Linked DNA regions of Homo sapiens: regions 1 and 2 are each linked to region 3. The links are contacts of gene promoters, found by promoter capture Hi-C in blood cells and fetal thymus (Javierre and others, 2016). All regions are on one chromosome and are shown on one strand. The core of a region is centred on a gene start or on the middle of the fragment in contact, and the rest is flanking DNA. Distances in the headings are between cores, read along the strand shown.

What was found. The method cuts DNA at HindIII sites, captures the fragments that hold promoters and counts their contacts. A CHiCAGO score of 5 or more calls a contact.
Region 1: a fragment that was not itself captured here is called in contact with the fragment with the promoter of RPS3A in region 3 in 1 of 17 cell types (neutrophils); the score reaches 6.9 in neutrophils.
Region 2: a contact is called between a fragment that was not itself captured here and the fragment with the promoter of RPS3A in region 3, in 1 of 17 cell types (fetal thymus). The highest score is 5.7, in fetal thymus.

The regions. Positions count from the first base shown.
Region 1 is chr4:152,515,381-152,519,598 of GRCh38, forward strand. The region is part of intron 2 of FBXW7 (F-box and WD repeat domain containing 7); the gene reads right to left. Among named protein-coding and RNA genes, the nearest start is that of FBXW7, 19 kb to the right of the region's middle. RefSeq lists a silencer at 557-775. The HindIII fragment of the contact is 5,926 bases long and covers 1-4,218 here.
Region 2 is chr4:152,347,404-152,351,903 of GRCh38, forward strand. FBXW7 (F-box and WD repeat domain containing 7) reads right to left here. Exons shown (of 14, transcript NM_001349798.2): 5 at 2,639-2,721. Among named protein-coding and RNA genes, the nearest start is that of FBXW7-AS1, 12 kb to the left of the region's middle. The HindIII fragment of the contact is 4,803 bases long and covers 79-4,500 here.
Region 3 is chr4:151,097,976-151,102,375 of GRCh38, forward strand. It overlaps RPS3A (ribosomal protein S3A), which reads left to right and starts at 1,653. Exons shown (of 6, transcript NM_001006.5): 1 at 1,653-1,739; 2 at 2,510-2,613; 3 at 3,000-3,187. The coding sequence starts at 1,678. SNORD73B (small nucleolar RNA, C/D box U73B) reads left to right here and starts at 4,082; the gene lies at 4,082-4,156. RefSeq lists enhancers at 563-632, 910-2,109, 1,408-1,992, 1,413-1,972, 1,993-2,576. The HindIII fragment of the contact is 1,842 bases long and covers 300-2,141 here.

The sequences.
Region 1 (4,218 bases), core at 1,450-3,949, 1.4 Mb after region 3:
ACAGAAATGTCTTGTAGTTTACTGTATATAAATTATATCTCAATAAAATCAACTTAAAATGGGGGGAAAAAAGCAACAATGCTTTACAAATCACCATTTGCCCATGGCAGTCACAACATAGCTGTCATTCCCTGTACACTTGCAAATTGGGTAATGGCAGTTTATATCACCATAATTATTACTAAATTCTGTACATTTAGTAGTACAATAAGAAGTCACGCTTACTTCTTAATTTTAAATGTCCTGTAAAATACTATGATTCAGCATTGAAACAAAAAAGTTGTTTACAAAAAAGAACACAAACACAACAGTAGAAAATAAATTTGACATTTCTGAAGCAGATATTGTGGCTGGAAGAATAACCACAACTCTCTTTTTTTTTTTTTTTTGCAAGGCACTGTCCAAGCAATAATGTGTTGTATCATGTTTTAATTCAACATTTTTTCTTCCTTAGTCATACATAAAGTAAGAATTTGTCTTATATTTTAATCCAGCATTTTTCTTCCTTAGTCATACACAACATAATAACTTGGCCACATGGCAAGAACATGGTGGCGGGGGTGGGCCTCTAAGGAGCTCAAAGTGGTCCCTGGCTGACAGCCAGCAAGCAAACAGGGACATCAGATCTACAAGAACAAGGAATTGAACTCTTCCCACAACCGGTGAGCCTGGAGGAGAACCCAGAGCCTCAGAAGAGATAGGAGCCCCGGCTGATTCCTTAATTTCAGCCTAGTGAGAACCTGAGGAAAGACCCAGCTAAACCATACCCAAATTCCTGACCAATAGAAACTGTAAGATAAGCTGCTAAATTTGTGTTAATTTGCTGTAGAGCAGGGGTCCACAACTGGTACTGGTCCGTGGCCTGTTAGAAACCCGGCCGCACAGCAGGAGGTGAGCTGCAGGTGGAGTATTATCGCCTGAGCTCCGCCTCCTGTCAGATCAGCTGTGGCATTAGAGTCTCATAGGAGCACAAACACTATTGTGAACTGTGCATGCAAGGCATCTAGGTTAGGTGCTCCTTAAGAGAACCTAATGCCTGATGATTCATCCCAAACCATTCCCCACTGCCTCTCCTTCCCCGCATCCACGGAAAAACTGTCTTCCACAAAAATGGTCCCTGGTGCCAAAAAGGCTGGGGACTGCTTCTGTAGAGCGATGGAAAACTAATACCATACAGATGACCATTTAGATTTGAGGAAACATGGTTTATATTATTTCTCTTAAAGGCTGCTACTCTTTATCATCAAAACAATTTCTAAAACTTCACATTATTATAAGTGATGTAATTCAATTTCACAAGTCAGCAAGATAAGCGGTAATACTAATCTCAACACTGCACAGTTTTTAATTTTTAATTTTTTAAAGAAAGTGTAACTTCTAAGAATTTATTTCTTCCACCAAGTAGGCACACAAACAATACTGTAAACTTAGTATGGTTGTTTCCGCTTTTTTTGTTTGTTTTTGAGACAGGGTCTTATTTTGTCACCCAGGCTGGACTGCAGTAGCACCATCTTGGCTCACTGCAGCCTCGACCTCCTGGGTTCAAGCAATCCTCCTGCCTCAGCCTCCCAAGTAGCTGGGACTACAGGCAAGTGCCACTACACCCAGCTAATTTTTGTATGTTCAGTAGAGATGGTTTCGCCATGTTGTCCAGCTGGTCTCGAACTCCTGAGCTCAAGCGATCCACTCGCCTCAGCCTCCCAAAGTGCTAGGATTATACGCATGAGCTACCGTGCCAGGCTGTTTCTGCCTTTCTAAACCAATGACATATCAAAACAGAAGCCCAATCTTGGTCTTTATCCATTTCTAAGGAAGTGTAAATAAAGTTGGAGGGGTGGTTTTTTTAAAAAAGTTAATTTTGAGATCTAGCATGGCCACATTATTGGAGGCAATCATCCAGTTTCTAAGAACTTCGGTAAACTCGACTATTTAAAAAAAGGAAACACAGAAATCTGAATAAAGTCTACTATCTAATTAATAGTATAAATAAACAAATGGAATAATAATGCATGCTCTGCCAACCTCATATATAATTAAATGCCAATGAAAATAGCCAGTACTTCTATGGCTCTTATTGTGTGCCAGGCACTGTTCTATAAATAATATATAAGAAATAAATTTACAGATGACACAGACAGTATAGAATAAAGATTAAGGTCCCAGGCTCTAGAGCCAGACTGCCTGGAAACAATCCCAGCTCCACTATTAACTAAAGGTGGGACCTTGACCATGTTTAACTTCTCTATGCCAAATTTTCAGCTATAAAATAGGGATATTAACAACACTTACCTCATAGAGCTATCGTGAGGACTGGATGAGGTAATACACATGAAGGACACAGAACAGTGCCTGTCACATAATAAACACTCAAATACCGATATCGATATTATTTGTATAGTGGTGCCATATTAACATTCACTTCTAAGAAAGGAAACCTGTAGTAGATTATGTCAGAGGATACTAATGAGCCTTAGACTTAAAGTCTGAAAATCTTGAAGTACTTATCTGATTCTTTCTACCCCAACCCCTAAATTCTATTTACCAGAATTTAGTTCCACTTAGGCATTTTTAATCTTTTATAGAACATCATTCAGCACTCAATACTTATTTTTTTCTTTTTTTCTTCAAGACAAAGTCTCGCTGTGTCGCCCAGGCTGGAGTGCAATGGTGCAATCTCAGCTCAATGCAACCTCCACCACCCGGGTTCAAGCAATTCTCCTGCCTCAGCCTCCAGAGTAGCTGGGATTACAGGCACGCACCACCACACCCAGCTAATTTTTCTATTTTTAGTAGAGACAGGGTTTCACCATGCCAGCCAGGCTGGTCTGGAACTCCTGGCCTCAAGTGATCCACCCGCCTTGGACTCCCAATGTGCTGGGATTACAGCCATGAGCCACTGCACCCAGCCTACTATTTTATTTATTTATATATTTGAAACAGGGTCTTGCTCTCTCACCCAGGCTAAAGTATAGTGGCAGGATCTTGGCTCACTACAGTCTTGAACTACTACGCTCAAAACCATCCTCCCACCTCAGCCTCCCAAGTAACTAGGACTACAGGTGCACACCACCACACCCAGCTAATTTATTTTATTTTTGTAGAGACAAGGTTTTGCCATGATGCCCAGGCTGGTCTCCAACTCCCGGCCTAAAGCAATCCTTTTGCCTCAGCCTCTCGAGTAACTGGGATTATAGGCATAAGCCATCACGCTCAGCTTCAGCACTCTATACTTAGTATTTGCATGTAACTTTTGATAAAATTTTATAAAGGCATATAATTAAAATTTCTGAAAAGGGCAAAGTTCAAATGTATTTAACTATAGTTACAAATACAGTATTTTAAATGGAACCAAGAGAAAATCTTTCACAAAACATTTTTAAAGGCCAACATCTAAGTTTAGCTCTTTTTAAGGTAACAGAATTACAAAAATTATTTTAAATATCCTAATGAAAAAACAAAAATACAGATATAAAAACTATGTTCTCACAGTATTAATTAAATATGAAATATCTATAAATAAACTCACTGGGTAGGGAATAGTTCTACAAAGTATGTAAAAGAAGAAAAAATAAATTTTTTTTAAATTACAAACACCAAATCAGCAAACAAAAATAGTTTAAGAAATTACATAAGGGAAGCCAGGCGTGGTGGCTCATGCCTGTAATCCCAGCATTTTGAGAGGTGAAGGTGGGTGGATCACGAGGTCAGGAGATCGAGACCATCCTGGCTAACACGGTGAAACCCCGTCTCTACTAAAAATACAAAAAATTAGCAGGGCGTAGCGGTGGGCGCCTGTAGTCCCAGCTACTCAGGAGGCTGAGGGAGGAGAATGGCGTGAATCCGGGAGGCAGAGCTTGCAGTGAGCCAAGATCACACCACTGCACTCCAGCCTGGGCTACAGAGTGAGACTCTGTCTCAAAAATAAATAAATAAATAAATAAAGAAAGAAAGAAAGAATAATCAGATACCCACTGACTTAAGCAATTTATACCCAAGAGACTAACAAATGTTGATTCTCAGATTTTCTGCTAAACCATAGGTTTTCAAATCCTAAATAATGTATTTGAGGCTCATCCTGAAATAATCTCCTTCAAAAGATTTAACTCTCACTCAACAACACATTTCACATATAAAATCAGTTTTCTCCATAATCTTAGACAGATTTTGCCTAGATAAATTTATTCTACTGCTAACATATCTGGGACACCTGTCCTGATG
Region 2 (4,500 bases), core at 1,230-3,729, 1.3 Mb after region 3:
CTTCTCCTATGACTGGTCTTTGGTGACATAAGTAAAGTTTAAATTTTCTTTATAAAAAGGGTTGTGATACTTTATTAAAGCTTTAAAAAACTCAGACATAGAAATACTATGTTCAAATGTTTTGAATTTCAAGAATCACATTATTCCTTAAGTTTGCCTCAGATGCCTTCAAAATTGTCTATAATATTTCTAATTTTTTACTGCTATTTATAAAGTTTGGTCTGAATAGTTGACAGGACTCAGTCTTGATTAGAAATACATTTATTCAAAACAGGTAAGTATTAAGAACTTATATGCAAAACTAAATAAGATCATCTAAACATTTTTATACAATAATTTAAATTTTGAGATTTAACTGTCTCAAACAAACTTGAAATTCAATTCTGCCACTAGTAAAATGAGGACGACTAGATGATCTCTCTAAAACTAACTACCCTAAAAATGACCAATTAATAGCAGAAAGAATATATAACTATATTACTAACGTATTAAACTTTCCTTTCTAATTTCTGCATGTAATTAAACTAAACTCAAGGTAAATATTGGGTATCCATTTTAAAGACCTTGGAAAAAAAGCAGCAGGAAGGTCTGGTTTAACAAAATTATATTTGAAAAGAAATTCTCACTCAATTCATTGAGCTATGTTGATTAATTATTTTAAATTCAAAGAACACTTACAAATTGCATCGTAATAGTTAACAATCAAACTCTGATAAATTACTAATGAAACAACTCCTCCAGCTGTTTTTTTCTATCCAGCATTATTTTGTTAAAAAATGTATCTCAGTCACCAGATTTTACAGAAAAGTCTTCTTATCTACTCCCTTTAAATCCTCTAATAGTATAAATCGAAGACAATCTTTAACATTCAGCAATTAAATCTATCTTTTCTTCTTTCAAATTCAAAGGTAAGTTCTATTTTCTTTTCCTCCAAAATAAAATAGGATATGTTTATAACAAATTTTTGATGGAAAAATCATAGTTTTATCTTATTAGCAAATCTGTCAAAAATATCACAAAATACCAAATATATACCTTCCTAACCGAGAGTCTCCAGAAAAACATGGAAATAAATATGCTGTTTGGTCTAATTTTGCTTTAATAAAATTATATATTAACAGGCTAAAAATAAAACTTCTGCCTTTTCAGTTGCTTTGTCAATATAAAAAGTGAGCAACTAAAGACAAATTTTACTAAAATGTGTTCTGTAATAAAAATTCAGCACTCATTTATTCTAAGCTGCCTTAAAAACAAGTGAACAATGTAATACCTTTGTCCTGGTATCAGCCATATTAATAGAAGACTGATACATTTAAAAAATAGCATTAACAGTTAGTTTAACATTAAATGCAAATTTCTCATCCAAGAAATACTTTATCATGACTAGAAGGGAAAAGCAAAATGAAGTGAATAGTTTCACTTGTCTCTCTATCCCTCCACACCCTCTGGTGGAAGTGCCAAAACACAGTAAAACTGTCAAAAGGCAAAGAGTAACAGGAAGGGGGACAGTTAACATAAGAAAAATCACACCGAAAAGCAGCTCCTGAATAAGAGATAGCTTTATTTTTCTTTTCTGTGTTATCTCTTCACTTTTTGAATGTAAGACTATTCCAATTATGATGATTTTCAAATTTCATAAAGCAGCATTTGAAAGAAATATTTTTTACAACTGAAATAAAAACAAGCTATTTCTCTGTAAGAGGCACAATCTGCAACAATGTTCAATAAAAAAATTATATCTGAGCAATGTTAATTTTAGTGCATCTTATAGAATAAAAATAACTAAATTGAAATATTTTGAGAGAAAGGAAGAAATGTCATAACCATGAAGTTCTTATGGTTTCTACTGTTAACTTTCAATCACTTATTTTAAAAACTGGCAATTATACAAAAAATTCTGTTTTAAAGACCAAAAAAAAAAGCTCTAAGATACTTCTGTCATTTAAATTTTAAAATACGACATTCCAAGTGACATTCAAAGCCACTTTTAATTGGCTGGGCAATAGACATTGTGCTTAAGTTAGCCTAATAACTGTGAGAGTGGGAAAAGTTTTATACTGATGTAAAATCCAAAAATAATGGGGACTGAAGTAGAAAAAGATTACAATTATGTTTCATTGTTATGGAAACTATTCTACTGGTATAGAAAAGAAATGTATGTGTTAAAAACTTAAGACCTACCAAGCCCATAAAAGAAAATTTCTAACACATTAATTTCATGAAATAAGATTGAGTTAGTAATTGTTTTACTTCACTGCTAATAAATGTATCTTCAAATTTCCATACATAAATGTCTACCCTAGAACAGCTGTTCCTATAGTAACAAGACACAGGGGCTCATATTCATATTTTATGGTTTACTTTTTAGAATTCCTTAAAAATTGTAATTTTAAATTTTTGTTCACAAGATAATTTCTGCTTGTGTCCTACTTCAAAATGTATTAGTAACAAAACATAAACTAAGGTGGCATTCCTCTTATTTAAAATGATATAGTTCTCAATTTCCGGTAATCTCAAAATGTGTTAAACAGTCAACCGTACTAGTAACATTATTATTCTACAAGAATAAACTAAAACACTTTCAGAATCAACTCTAAAAAACTGAGAATCATGAGATAATCATTATATTTAATATTACCTTGTATATTCTGAGACTTTGCATGGTTTCTTTCCCAAAGAAAAAGAGCGGACCTCAGAACCATGGTCCAACTTTCTTTTCATCTATAAGGTAAAACAAACAAGATATGTTTTTTAAAAATCGTCTAACTATCAAATCTTGAGTCAGCATGGTTAATATTTTAAATTCTTAAATTTTCATATGCCTACAATGTTAATTAAATATATAAAATAAATGTTTCATAGTTTCTTCTATTTGTTCTACTTTGTTTTACTCTGAATGGAATGGAAAGGTGAATTTTCCCCCCTAATATTTTATCCAGAAGAACAGTGTGTGATGATTTGAAAACTGATATTCATTATATATATATATTCCTTGAGATAATATATCTTTCATGTTTTCCAATTTAATAACCAACATAGGGAAAAATCTCAAGTTAATCCACACAGAAAATAATCATATTTAACGTGCCTTCCTCGTGAATCATTTTTCTTTAAAAACATGTTTTTAATAAAGATAAAATTCAAAATTGTAAAATCAGAAATAATTATGAAAGTAACAAACTCAATTTTAAACACTCATACCATTATAAGAGGGTAAAGAGCAGTATAAATAATCTTGAATAGTGATAAGGCATAAAGCAATTAATATGGGCAATAAGGACAGTTTTAAAAAGTAAATCAATAATAAGAGAAATCTGGAGATAGTATAATAACGCTGAGGGGAAAGTTGTCAATTGATATATATACAGAATATAGCTCTATTGACAGATACTCAGGACAAAATATTCTAATTTGAAAAGCAACAACAGAAAGGTTTTAAAAGAATCAGTTATGCCTCTTCTATAAGGTGTATCCAAAATCTACATTTTAAGGTGTTTCATTATGCCATGTTATACTATAAATATATTCAGAATTGTTTCTTGTCAACATCAATATTGAAATATTCTCATTTGACTATATGTATATTTTAAAACTAGAAAATAAAATCTGGTAAGATTTGACTTTTTCCATTTCAACAACCCCTTTTTAAGATTTGTGTCCACTAATTAATCACTGTATTACTGCAAGTTATAGGAGGAAAAACACTCCAAAGTGATAGAGAGCTATCCTCATGTTTATAAGTAGGTAAAAATCCTTGCTTTGCAGCAGCCTTATTTTCCTACCTCTTGCCTTACATGGGAACATCATAACATAGCATGATACAATATAAATACTAAAGAGACTTAAAATGTTTTAGAGCCACACTGAATAATAAAGACCATGTTTTTGTCATCACGAAGAGTTTTCTAAAATACTAGGATGATCTTACGACATTAGGGGCTAGAGGTGAGGGTACAACAAGCTCACCTACAATTTATACCTTAGTTCATGCCATACCTACTGGAAAGAAATGGAATTGATCTGGCTGGTTTCTTCCCTTTAGAAGTTTATATACTCATTACATTGTTTTAAAGTGATTCCTCTCAGAAACCATTATTTTCTTTCTCCAAATAATTTTATTAAAAAGCAAATATAAATATAAAAGCTGAAGTATATAGGTAGCCACGTGTTTCCGTGTATATAATTTATAGATACACACATATATATATAAACATACATGCAAATGAATCCATCAGGAAGGTCAGTCAGTACAGACTATGTTAAAATCTAGTTTTTTGATAACTTCCACAAATTCTTATCTTCATAATTAGGAGAAACTTTGATATTTATTCTAATTAAGTTTGTAATACTGGCTTTCAGAACTTCCCAGGATACCTTGTAAAAAACATTGGTGCAAATACCATTTGCCACTAAAAGCAAACTTTATTTCCATCTTAGAAATCCTTCAATGAATAAACATGCCCCAAAATGTGTATCAAGGAAACCACTGAGAAAGGATTT
Region 3 (4,400 bases), core at 403-2,902:
TACTCCTAGCCTCAAGTGATCCTCCTGCCTCTGCCTTCCGAATACCTGGAACTAGCGGCCTGAGACACCTGGCAGGGCTACCTTAACCTTTTTTAAGTGTAGAGTTCAGTAGTGTTAAGTACATTCATACTATTATGAAACTAAGACTTTGAATTTATCCTCCAGGCAACTGAGATTTATGGAATTACTGAAAGATTTCAGGACCCTACTAGAGGTTTAGGAAGGTTGTCTTGGGGGGTGGGTGTAGTGGGAGGTAGGGGATGGAGGCTAGCAGGACTGGAAGGGATTGTAAGTTTAAAAGCTTGCAGGGGGCCTTGTAAGTAAGGGTTGGTTTTGGCTTGGTCACAGGGTTTTCTGCCAGAGGGGAAGTTAGAGAAGGGAACTCAACACACCACTGGCTGAGTACCAAGCCTGTATGGGCCAGATGCTTTCCGAGGGCTGCACACTTGAGCTAGCCAGCCACACCTTGCCAGGATGTGCTCTGTTAACCCCTACAGTTAAAAAAAATGGGGGAGGCGGGTTTGGATTAGTTGCAAAAATGGAAACATTTGGAGATCTCACTTTTTTTTTTTTGACGCAGTTTCACTCTTGTTGGCCAGGCAATGGCGCGATCTCGGCTCACTGCAACTTCCGCCTCCTGAGCTCAGATTCTCGTGCCTCAGCCTCCCGAGTAGCTGGGATTACAGGCACCCACCCGGCTAATTTTTTGTATGTTTAGTAGAGACGGGGTTTCACTATGTTGGCCAGGCTGGTCTCGAACTCCTGAGCTCAGGCGATCCGCCCGCCTCAGCCTCCCAAAGTGCTGGGATTACAGGCGTGAGCCACCGCGCCCGGCCAACGCCCTGCTAATTTTATCATTTTCTTGTAAAGACGGGGTCTGGCTGTGTGGCCCAGGCTAGTCTCCAATTCCTGGCTTCAGTTGATTCCCCTGCCTCAGCCTCTTAAAGTGCTGGGATTACAGGTGTGAGCCAACGAGTTCGGTCTCACTCTATTTTAAAAAAACCTTTTAATCAATATATAACAGACATATAGAAAAGGACACAAATAAGCGTAGAGCTTAGTGAATGTTCACAAAGCAACAACACCTGAGATGAACCAGCATCCACATCAACAAGCAGAACGTCGCTAGCATCTCTGGAGTGATGCTCATTTAGCCCTATGAAACCTCATGAAGCCGACCGTTTTATCACCCCCATATTACGCATGAGGAAACAAGCGTGGAGAGGTCGGTCTCAAGCAAAGCCCTGTTGAAACCGGCATTTGAATCAGATCCGCTGACTGACTCCAAAGCCAATGCTCTCAAAAAGCAGGTTTGGGGGTTAGACGGTGAGTTCAGCTTTGAACGATGTTGAGTGGGCGTCTCGTTTTACAGAAACTTACTTCCCGACGTCACAGCCACAGAAACCACAGGTAACCAGACGCCTGCACGTCAGGCCACCGACGCCTTGGTCTACACAGCGCAGCCTCCAGTGAGCCCGCGGCATGCCGCGCGGCCTCCCCACACACGATGGCGATGTCGCAACCACAGTAGAAAGAGTGGCGCTCTCTACTGTCCCGGAATTCTTGAGGCCGGAAGAATAACAGGGCAAAGGTCACGTAGACGGCGCGCCCCGCCCCCGTACGCCTAAGTTCTCGCGCGACTCCCACTTCCGCCCTTTTGGCTCTCTGACCAGCACCATGGCGGTTGGCAAGAACAAGCGCCTTACGAAAGGCGGCAAAAAGGGAGCCAAGAAGAAAGTGTAAGTCGCGACTGTCGTGGCGTCTTGCTTTTTGGGGGTCTGCTGGAATCGGCGGGCTGGTCCTAGATCGCGGCGTAGGCCGGATGGCGAGGATTCCAGTCGGATTGTGCGGGCCGTGGCGGGTTGGTGCACCCAGGAACGCGGCCTGGAGGGTCGGTGTTGAGTAGCGGCAGGTCGGCTGCCTTTCCCAGGCCTTCTGGTCCTTGCGCGCGTCGCGTTTGAGCCGGCTTGCCGGCGCGACTCGGCTGGAATGTTAGTTTTGTGGGCTCACGAGCTGCCTCAATTCTGCGAGTGTTTGATGGCACTGCGACAGCAGGAGTTGAGGAAAGCACCCTTCTATCCATTCAGGACCCGTCAATCTCGCCTTTGCTTGGTCCCGCTGGAATCTGCGAGCTCCTGCTAAGCTTTGGGGCCATGCAGTCTCTTAGTTACCAGTACATGCCATTACGTGCCAGCAAAGTTAATGAGATTGCATGTTACTCGTGCCTGTGTAGTGGAAGGACCGATGCATGTTATTCTAAGTGCCTGTGTAGTGGATGGACCGATGAGGGTGGGAAGTGGACATAACCTTTCAAAGTCTGATGCATGCAGTGAAACGTACAGTGGGAAGAGCTAGATTTATGTTTGTTCCCCTCACCTCACTGTGAGATATACTTTGGTATCAAATTGCCGGTTAGCTTTTTAAAATATTAATGGGAAATACCATTAACAGTGAAAAATACAGTAAGAATTGATCTGCAATGGAACTTAAGCATCTTCTTAAAATCCAGGGTTGATCCATTTTCTAAGAAAGATTGGTATGATGTGAAAGCACCTGCTATGTTCAATATAAGAAATATTGGAAAGACGCTCGTCACCAGGACCCAAGGAACCAGTAAGTAGCTTATTCTTGGTTTGTATTTTCCTTAAGTTGGCGCTTGTATATTGTAGCAGGCATCTTGGTCTGTTGTTGGTCCTGTGGTGGGAGACTTTAAGGAAATGTCAGCTCTTGGTTGCAGCCTTGGCACCTGTGGTGATCATTTTTAGTACAGCACTTGGAGAGAAGCAAGATGGTGCTTTTTGAATTAAGAAAATGTGCCATGGGTAGTTCTGAGCTTCAAATAAGTACTGTTGATAAGTCACTGGTGTCTGGATAGATTTGATAACAAAGGTTAAGGTCTTTATAATTTACCATTAACTTAATTTCTACCCTCAGTTTACAGGCTTGACTTTGCTTATATGGTTCCTAAATGTTAAGATACTTGTTTTTTTCTTTTGTAGAAATTGCATCTGATGGTCTCAAGGGTCGTGTGTTTGAAGTGAGTCTTGCTGATTTGCAGAATGATGAAGTTGCATTTAGAAAATTCAAGCTGATTACTGAAGATGTTCAGGGTAAAAACTGCCTGACTAACTTCCATGGCATGGATCTTACCCGTGACAAAATGTGTTCCATGGTCAAAAAATGGCAGGTGAGACCCAAAGTTCCTTAGAGTGGTTGTGCTATGGGTGTTTGACCAAGGATAGCATGGTTTGATGACTGGAAGGAGCAAGTTCATTTTATTTATTTATTGAGACCAGTGAAATGTCCACAAAGTTCATTTTAAATTTTTGTTTTCTTGCCGTTGTTGAGTGCTAACTCTGGGGTTGCCACACCATATTTTACTTACTATTTAAATCTAAGATTTAATAGTGGTGTATCATCAAAGTCAGATTTTCTTGCTGCATAGATTAGTGGTTTTTTGAGGAACGTTTAGGTGCAGGTGGGCGGTTTTGCCTGTCTTAAGGATGTTTTTTGACCTCAGAATTGAGTGAATGTTGATTAACTGTGGCAGTAGAGCATAATTGTGGCAGAGCCTCTGGAGTGAGGTTAAAATCTGGGCTCCATTTGCCTATTGTGTTCTCGTTGGAAAGTAACTTGTTTTCTAAGCCTCGGTTTCTTTATTTGTAAAGTGCAGATAAGAGTGTCATTTTATTGAATTGTGAGGATGAAATGAAAATATTTCAGATGTGTCTGGCTAACTATCCAGTTGGAATATTTTGTGGGAGTTTTTTGTTTTTGGGAGATTGAGTCTCTTATCGTCCGGGCTGGAGTGCAGTGGCGCCATCTCTGCTCACTGCAACCTCCTCCTCCTGGGTTCAAGGGATTCTCATGCCTCAGCCTCCCAAGTAGCTGGGATTACAGGCACCCGCCACCACGCCCAGCTAATTTTTGTATTTTTAGTAGAGACAGGGTTTCACCATATTGGCCAGGCTGGTCTCGAACTCCTGACTTCAAGTGATCTGCCCGCCTCAGCCTCTCAAAGTGCTGGGATTACAGGTGTGAGCCACTGCACCTGGCACAGTTCGAATATTTTGTATGTGGGAATGAATGATGACAAAATGTTTCAGTCCCAAATGATACATACTGATTATACCATTATATTTATCCTGACATTCCTCTAAGGCTTTATGGTTTACATTTCTAGAAATATTTTAAGGTCCCTTAGCTGTAAATTGTATTTGATTAGTTTTTTTTTATACTAAGGTATAAAATTTACAAAATGCAAACAAGGTAAATCAGTTTTCATCACTACCCAAGATGTTTTTTGTTTTTTCAATTTAGGCAATAATATGACCACTAACTAGGGGTTTTTAATTATATTTTAGCTCTGAAATTGGGTATTTAATCATCAGCATGGCTTT